Linked DNA regions of Homo sapiens: region 2 is linked to region 1. The links are contacts of gene promoters, found by promoter capture Hi-C in human tissues and cell types (Jung and others, 2019). All regions are on one chromosome and are shown on one strand. Each heading gives the region's core, a stretch centred on a gene start or on the middle of the fragment in contact. The rest is flanking DNA. Distances are from core to core; before and after follow the strand shown. Region 1 holds the start of GPRC5C (G protein-coupled receptor class C group 5 member C). Region 2 overlaps DNAI2 (dynein axonemal intermediate chain 2).

Region 1 (3,941 bases), core at 1,007-3,506:
CCCCCGGGACTAGAGCAGAGACCAACAGGGACCCTGAAGGCTGAAGCCCATGTCATCGGCCCCAAAGGACTTGCTTTGTCCTTTAAAGGCAAATCCTGCCCAGGAAGTGAGACGGAGTGAACACAAAAAGAGCAAACAGCTCTCAGGAAACCTCCCTACATATCCGCCGCCATCTACCATGCAGGGCTGGCAGTGGGCAGGGCTCCGCTGCTCCGTCCAGGCCTCAGATGCCCCAGCCTTTCCCCCGCCTGGGTCGGGAGGGAGTGGTAAAGAGTTGCCTTTTTGGAGAATCTAGGTAGGGAAAAGAGATTCCCAAAGCTTGAAAATAAATTGAAACAGATCTGCCAGATCCACAATTCATCTTTGGCTTCTTAAGGTCACAAGCAGTCTCGGGGACTATTTCCATTCCACCTTCCTCTAGCTCTTAGCTGGCTTTTCACATATGCTAATGAGCGGCCCCTCCCAGCACACTGTGTTCAGCACCAGTTGCCTGCTTCACGAGAACTAGTCCCAGCCCACAGTCACGGATGCCCCTCGCCTAGGTCTGACCCGCCGTTTGCCTTTCTAGCGTTGGCACTCAACTGCTTGGACCCTACAAGCGTTTGCCTCCCTGGCATGGGGGCCTCTGAATCTTAGGGTGGGAGGTGGAGCTACGGAAGGGAGCCCAGGAGTGAGCAACAGATCAGCAGCAGCACTGCGCCCCTCTTCTTAATATTGAAGAGACTTGAAACAATTCAGTCTTCGCCACCCCAGACCAGCCCGTGAGGGCAAGGCCAGGAAGGGATACAGGGTTCTAGAGAACCAGGGCCTCACCGCCAGCTCCGGCCGCTAAGCAAACATTCCCTCCAGGAGTCCGAGAAGCCGGTGTGCGAGGGGAGGAACCAGCCTGAGGTTTATCGCTCCAGCAACTCCGGGTGATTCATAGAGTTTAGACTCCCGGTTGTCGTAGACCGCGGCAGGCACGCAAACAAGCAGCCCGGGAGATACCCTCCCCTTTCCCAGCCCCCGCTCCTCCACCTTGCTACCCCCTAGCCCGTGACCAGCTGCCTCCCCTCCCCCTCGCGGGCGCTCAGGGTTGAGCAAACACTCCGGGCCGCCCGCCCCGCCACCAGCTGGCTCCGACCGGCGCACCGCTGGCGATCCCCCAGGCAATTCGGCGTCATGAGAACCGGCACCCCGAGACTCGGCGCCCTGCCCTCCCTCCGCGTCTCCAGGGCCCTGGCCAGGCCCAACAACCTCTCCCTCCTCTGTGCGCCTCAGCCCCTACGGGCCTCTGGCGCGGGCTAACTAGGCCTCGCTGCGGGCCCCCAGGACTGCGCACCCCACCCCCCGCGAGGCCAGCAGCCCCGGGGGAAGGCGGCCGGAAAATCTCTTGTTTATCGGGCTGGATAAGTACCAGCCTGGATTCGCTTCCCAATTTCTGCGGTCCAGCTTCAGCAGATTCCTGGGGCCGGAGGGGAAAGGGTGGCAACCCACAGATCCACCCCGGAACAGGGAGTGGGGGGTGGGGCTGGTGGGAACCTGACCTCCTGGAAAGGACGGACTCGGAGTCAGAGCCAACGTGTCCCGGAGCGCAGAGGCCCAGGGGGTCGCGCTAAACACTGTACCTCGGGGAACAAAACCGTGAAGGCTAATTAGGACAAGTCGGAGCAGGGAACGGGGACGCCGGGAGGGGAGAGCGCGCTCCGAGTTGGGCAGAACCTGGAACGGTCACAGGAAACCCGGGCGCGGGGTAGTCGGGCCGAGGGGGACCTTTGCCCACGGTCCAGAGTGGTCTGGACTCGGCCCACGCGTGAGAGGAGCGCTTGGTGACGATCCCACGTACGCTTGGTGACTGGTGGAGGTCCCAGAGAAGGACCGTGCGTGCAAAAGGCGAACCTCGGTGTGCGGTGTGTCCACGTGTGCAAGCTGGGGAGGGGAGGGGGCGCAGAAGGCGTGACAAAGACGGACTCTGTCTTGAGTGTGCGCCTCGCTCCGGCCCGCTCCCAGCGAACTGTGCCTGAAGTGTGTCTCACGGGAGGGCCAGGACGAAGGTGACAAAGGCTAGGTGTCCCCCACGGAGACGCGCCAAGGTAGCCCCGCGCGTGTCCGTAGGCGCGCTCTCTGGAAGACGCGGTGGGGGGTGCGCAGGGCTGCACCCTCACACCAATTGCCCCGGCGAAGGCCGAGCCCAGAAAGTGAGTGCGCGTGAGTGTGCGCGCGCCCGCATGCGGGGGCGTGGCAGTCAACAGCAACAACCCACACGCCGGCAGGGCCAGAAACTCCCATCTCCCTCACCAGCCGGAAAGTACGAGTCGGCTCAGCCTGGAGGTGAGTCGGGGCGGGGAGGGCCGGGCAGGCTTTGTTCCTGTGTAAACGGAGCGCACGTACCTGGAGCGCGGCGGGCGCCCGATTAGCGCCCTGAATGGAGGTGATGTAACGGTGATGCAGGCTCCAGCCCACCCTCGCCGAAAGCAAGGAGCCCTGCCTGGGGACAGGCCCGCGCGAGAGCGAGCAACCCAGCGCGCCTGGCTCAGCCTCGGTCCCAGGGAGAGGCAGGCCCTGCGTCCCGGCCCGGGCCCCGCCATCCCAGCCAGGACCGGGCCTGGCCCAGCGCCCCGCGCCGCGTCCCTCCCACCCCCGCCCGCCCCCCGCCTGGGGCTGGAGTTGGCCCCAAACGCTGCGCTGGAGCGGGGCCGGCGGCGAGTCCCAGGTAAGGGCTGCTGCCTTCCCGCTCCGCCGCCCGGAAGAGTCGGGTCGGGACGGCGGGGAGTGGGCGAGGGCAGAGGCGGGGGGACTGGACATCCTGCGGGCTGGGGACGCCGCGCCAACTCCGCTCGGTCGCTGAAAGTTTTCAAACCCGAGCCGGCTGGGGACTGGGGGGGTGGGGGAGCCCGGCGCTGCGGCTCGGGCTGGAGGGAGGGGAAACCACTCCATAATCGGGGTCTCCAAGAGGAGCCCCTCCACCGCCTGCCTCTCGGTGGGAGTCCGCGGTCACTCTCTCTCGTGGGTGGCGTCCTCTCTGCCGCCTGCTACTGTGGATGTGGAGGGCAGGTTTCTGTGGCCCTAAAAATGGGAGAGAGTGACTGGTTCCCTTGCTCCCCATTCCAGCCACCCAGGGAGCGCAGGTGTAGACCCCAGTACCGTCGACCCAAGTAGGGACGAGAGGGTTCAGAATCCCCCTGAGGGAAGTTTGGAAATTCAGACTATCAAAGCGCCTCCCCTTCTGGTAGCCTGGCCCCTAGATCCCGAACCCCCACTCCCGGCTGGCTTTTCCAGCGTCCTTTGCACCTCCATCCCCAGGCCCGCAGTGTTACACGCTGGAAGACCCAATCACTTACAAACTCCACGATCAAGATCCTAAAGCCCGGGAGAGGAGACTGTTGGAAGTAGGGTTTTGTGCTCCTGGAGCTTCCTCTCCCCGCCGGCCCCCCACCCCTGTGCCTTCAACTGGACTGGGGGAGGGAGTGCATTGGGGGGTGGGGCGCATTCCAGAGTGACATTCCAGAGCAGACCCTTGAAGATTTCCAAGTCTCAGAGAGCTCAGGGCATTTTGGCCCAAATGCCTGGTCTTGGTGCGGGGCAGGGGCAGGGGGATAGGGGTGGGGTGTCTAGGCTGAGGTTCGAGGAACCCCAACCCACCCCCCACCAACCTACACACTGAGGCCGCTCCTTCCAGGCACAGGCGTCTCCTGTGCGCCTTCTTATCGATGGGGTAAACGCCTGAGCGCCCTGCACAGAGGGGTGAGACAGTGGGACCTAACCAGGGACTGGGAGAGACCGATAGGAGTGGAGGCAGGAAGGCTGTCAGTCGGGCCATCGTCTTTCCCTATAGGCTCTTGAGTGTGTGGGATGGGAGGAAGGCAAGTGCTCTGTGGTATCCCTGGGGGAACCTCCCTGAAGAGTGCCCTGGTCACAGCACCCTTGAAGACAGCCATTGGCCATGGGTCAGTGTTGAGTTT
Region 2 (3,941 bases), core at 528-3,027, 130 kb before region 1:
CAGACCTGCTGCCTCCTGCCCAGGGGAGCTTTCAGATTATGGAATAGACCCGGGCTCCCATAAACGTCCCTGCCAAACTATCTGGGTGCCAGAGCTCTAAAAGACTGAGGCAGAGCCACTTTGCCATGATTAATTCAAGAGCCTTGACTCAGTCATTATTCATAACCTCTTTCAGTGGTTTTTCATGCCAGCTCATACCAGCCCAGACTCTGGTGCTCCGCTGCTCCAAGAAGGGCCCCTCTAGGGCCATGTGGGACCCAGTGGGACCTACTCTTGAGCACTGCTTTGCCAAAGTAGAACAGGCTTATCTTTTATTTTTATTTATTTTTATTTTTTGTTTTGTTTTTGAGACAGCCTTGCTTTGTTGCCCAGGCTGGAGTGCAATGGCATGATCTCAGCTCACTGCAACATCTGCCTCCCAGGTGCGAGTGATTCTCATGCCTCAGCCTCCTGAGAAGCTGGGATTACAGGTGCCTGCCACCACGCCCAGCTAATTTTTTTGTGTTTTTAGTAAAGATGGGGTTTCATCATGTTGGCCAGGCTGGTCTTGAACTCCTGACCACAAGTGATCCACCTGCCTCAGCCTCCCAAAGTGCTGGGATTACAGGTGTGAGCCACCAGGCCTGGCCTATTTTTATTTTTTGAGACAGGGTCTTGCTCTGTCACCCAGGCTGGGGTGTAGTGGCACGATCATGGCTCACTGCAGCCTCAACCTCCCAGGCTCAAGCAATTCTCCCACCTCAGCCTCCCGAGTAGCAGGCAGCCTCCCGAGTAACAGCCTCCCGAGTAGCATGTGCCACCATGCCCAGCTAGGTTTTAAATTTTTTGTAGAGACGGGGTCTCACTATGTTGCCCAAGCTGCTCTTGGATTCCTGGGCTCAAGCAATCCTTTTGCCTCGGCCTCCTAATGCGCTAGGATTACAAGCATGAGCCACTGTGCTTGGCTGAGCAGGCGTATCTAAGAAAACATATTTCTGGGCCAGCTGAGTTCAGGGAAAATGCCTTGAACTTGGAGAAATACTAAGTCAAAGCTTACGAGCTAAGTACTTTTGTTATTTTACAAAACGGCCTTTCCTAGAAACAGCTCTGAGTGACAGGGTGAGCCCTCATTGTGCATTCATGGGAAAATGGAAACGAAATCTAACAGGACAAAGGACAGATAACCTTTCCATCTTTCTTGGCAAAGCACTAATAACAGATCACAGTAAAGGCTAAAGCTCCTCTGTGAGTTTCTTTCCAACAGAGGCAGCAGAGGTACAAAGGATAAGAGGAAATGGGCTAATGTAGCAGAGAGATTCACCTAAATGGAGTCTTTCCACGTGCTTTTCCCTACGTTAGGGACTCGGCTCTCCTCTCGCCTGGCTCCCTCCATCCTGAGGCTCATCTTCCATCTCAGCTACCTGTCACTTCCTCCAGGAGGCCTTCCCTGACCACCCTCATGTGTTCCCCTGCCACTATGCCTGTCCTATCCCCAGAGGCTTGCCCAGGGCCAAGTGTTGGGTAGGGAGTCAATGCCTGGGAGGGGCTCAAGGAACTGAATGAAGCTTGCACTCTGGGAGTCTCTCCAGAGAGTCTGTAGAGGCTGGTAGGAAACTCAGGCTGATTTGAACCAAGCCCTGATTCTAGAAAACCACATACCTGCCAAACCAGAAGCAGCAGCCCCCTCTCTCCCCTGCTCCCTGCCCTAAGGAAGGAAGCCTGTGCCCCCTTCCACTCCTTCTTCATCTCCTTCCTCACCAGCCTGCTGGGACACCCGAAAGGGCAGCCTGGTGGCGGAGCTATCCACCATTGAGTCCAGCCACCGAGACCCTGTGTATGGCACCATCTGGCTGCAGTCGAAGACGGGCACCGAGTGCTTCTCAGCTTCCACGGATGGGCAGGTACCCACCAGCCAGACACTGGAGAGAGGAGGGAAGGGAGGGGCAGTAACTGTTCCCTGGTTCCCCATCAGAACCCCTGGGGACATTTCCTTTAACACATTTTATTTTGAGATGGAGTTTCACTCTTGTTGCCCAGGCTGGAGTGCAATGGCACGATCTTGGTTCACTGCAACCTCTGCCTCCCGGGTTCAAGCAATTCTCCTGCCTCAGCCTCCCAAGTAGCTGGGATTACAGGCGCCTGCCACTATGCCTGGTTAATTTTTTATTTTTAGTAGAGATGGTGCTTCACTATGTTGGCCAGGCTGGTCTCGAACTCTGACCTCAGGTGATCCACCCGCCTTGGCCTCCCAAAGTGGTGGGATTACAGGCATGAGCCACTGCGCCCAGCCTAACACTTTATTTTTAAGTTGAGTAGTGATAATACATGCCCACGGAACAGAATCTAAAGGGTGCAAAAAAGAAAATGCCTTCCTCTCACCTCTGCCTGCACCTCCTCCCCTCCCTCCCTCTCTTATGTCTGCCTTCAGAGCTAGTCTCTGCGTATGCAAGGAAACACACCTCTCTCTTCTTTACTCTTTCTTTTTGCACACTTCACACACTATTCTGTACTCGATGTTTTCCATTGTGTGTACCTTGGAGATAGTTTCATATTTCATACACCGCTGCCCCATGCCTATTAATAACTGCATCATGTGGGTGTACCATAATTTATATATGGATTCTAATATTTTGTTGCTACCCCCCAAAAAATACAGCAAAGAGCATCTTTATACACAGATTGTTGCACACATGCGGGGATATATCTACAGCAGACATTGCTGGCAGTGGGACTTCTAGGTCGGAGCACACATGCATTTTTAACATTGCCGGATATTGCCTTATTGTGGGGAGTCTTGGCATATACCGATTCTTGGCCTTGCACCTGGAGGTTTTGATTCAGTAGGTCGAGGGCGAGGCCTCAGCATCTGGGTTGTATGAAGCTTGCCGGCGACTCTGATGATCAGCCAGGTGTGGGAACTGTGGACAGAACAGCAATCCTCAAAGTGTATTTGCTCCCACGAATTGCCGGGAGCTCCATCCTTTGTGGCCCAGTGGCTGACCCCAGGACGGTGGGGTGAGGGCGGAGAAGGCAAAAGCCAGGGGAAATACAGGGCCTCGAAGTCTCACTGTCGCCCCTCCTCCCACCAGGTCATGTGGTGGGACATCCGAAAGATGAGCGAGCCCACTGAAGTTGTGATCTTGGACATCACCAAGAAGGAACAGTTGGAAAATGCCTTGGGGGCCATCTCCCTGGAGTTCGAATCTACTTTGGTGAGTGTCCCTTGCTGTCCCTTCCCCGACTTGCATTGACAGGGCAGCCAGGGCTAAAGACAGGCCATTGCTAGGATATCAGGTGCTCGTGGAACCCAGCACCAGCCCAGGGAGGCCACCCTCACTGCAGCCATCCTAGACGTGTGTGGCCTTTACAACAACTTTCCAGCAGGGGGCAGCAGAGCTTCTCGAAGAAGGACACCATAGTCATCATGGCACCAAGTCATCTTTTGGCCAGTGGCCCAGCTGAACACAGAGGGCAATCTTTTGACAGAACAATTCCAGAAAAGCCCTGTTTTGTGGGGAAGGTCACGCCCAGGACCAACATCGGGAGGCCTGGACTCCAACCCAGGTCCTGGCCCTGCCTGGCACGGGGTCCCTAGGCTGGTCACCTGCCTTCCTCTGGGGAAGGAAGAGGTACTGGAGAGGAAAATGAGGTCAAAGCAGGCTCCTTGGAAAACCAGAGCACAAGCATGGTCTCGGTGTTCAGTCACTGAGAATGACAAAGAAATATCAAAGTTCAGGTCGGGCAGGGTGGCTCACGCCTGTAATCCCAGCACTTTGGGAGGCCAAGAATTTAAGACCAGCCTGGGTACATAATGAGACCCCCCCCACCGCCCGCCCAGTCTTTACCAAGAAAGAAAGAAAGAAAGAGAGGGAGAGAGAGGGAAAGAAAAGGAAAGAAGGAAGGAAAGAAGGAAGGAAGGAAGGAAGGAAGGAAGGAAGGAAGGAAGGAAGGAAAGAAGGAAG

Evidence for each region. Contacts are between HindIII fragments. The study calls those that stand out against the background at their distance.
Region 2: a fragment that was not itself captured here is called in contact with the fragment with the promoter of GPRC5C in region 1 in 4 of the 25 tissues and cell types used here (H1 embryonic stem cells, dorsolateral prefrontal cortex, spleen and 1 more).

Annotation. Positions count from the first base shown.
Region 1 is chr17:74,429,832-74,433,772 of GRCh38, forward strand. It overlaps GPRC5C (G protein-coupled receptor class C group 5 member C), which reads left to right and starts at 2,257. Exons shown (of 4, transcript NM_022036.4): 1 at 2,257-2,310. RefSeq lists a silencer at 1,130-1,269. The HindIII fragment of the contact is 9,677 bases long and covers 1-2,700 here.
Region 2 is chr17:74,297,978-74,301,918 of GRCh38, forward strand. It overlaps DNAI2 (dynein axonemal intermediate chain 2), which reads left to right. Exons shown (of 14, transcript NM_023036.6): 7 at 1,741-1,880; 8 at 3,069-3,191. Among named protein-coding and RNA genes, the nearest start is that of DNAI2, 26 kb to the left of the region's middle. The HindIII fragment of the contact is 3,967 bases long and covers 1-3,761 here.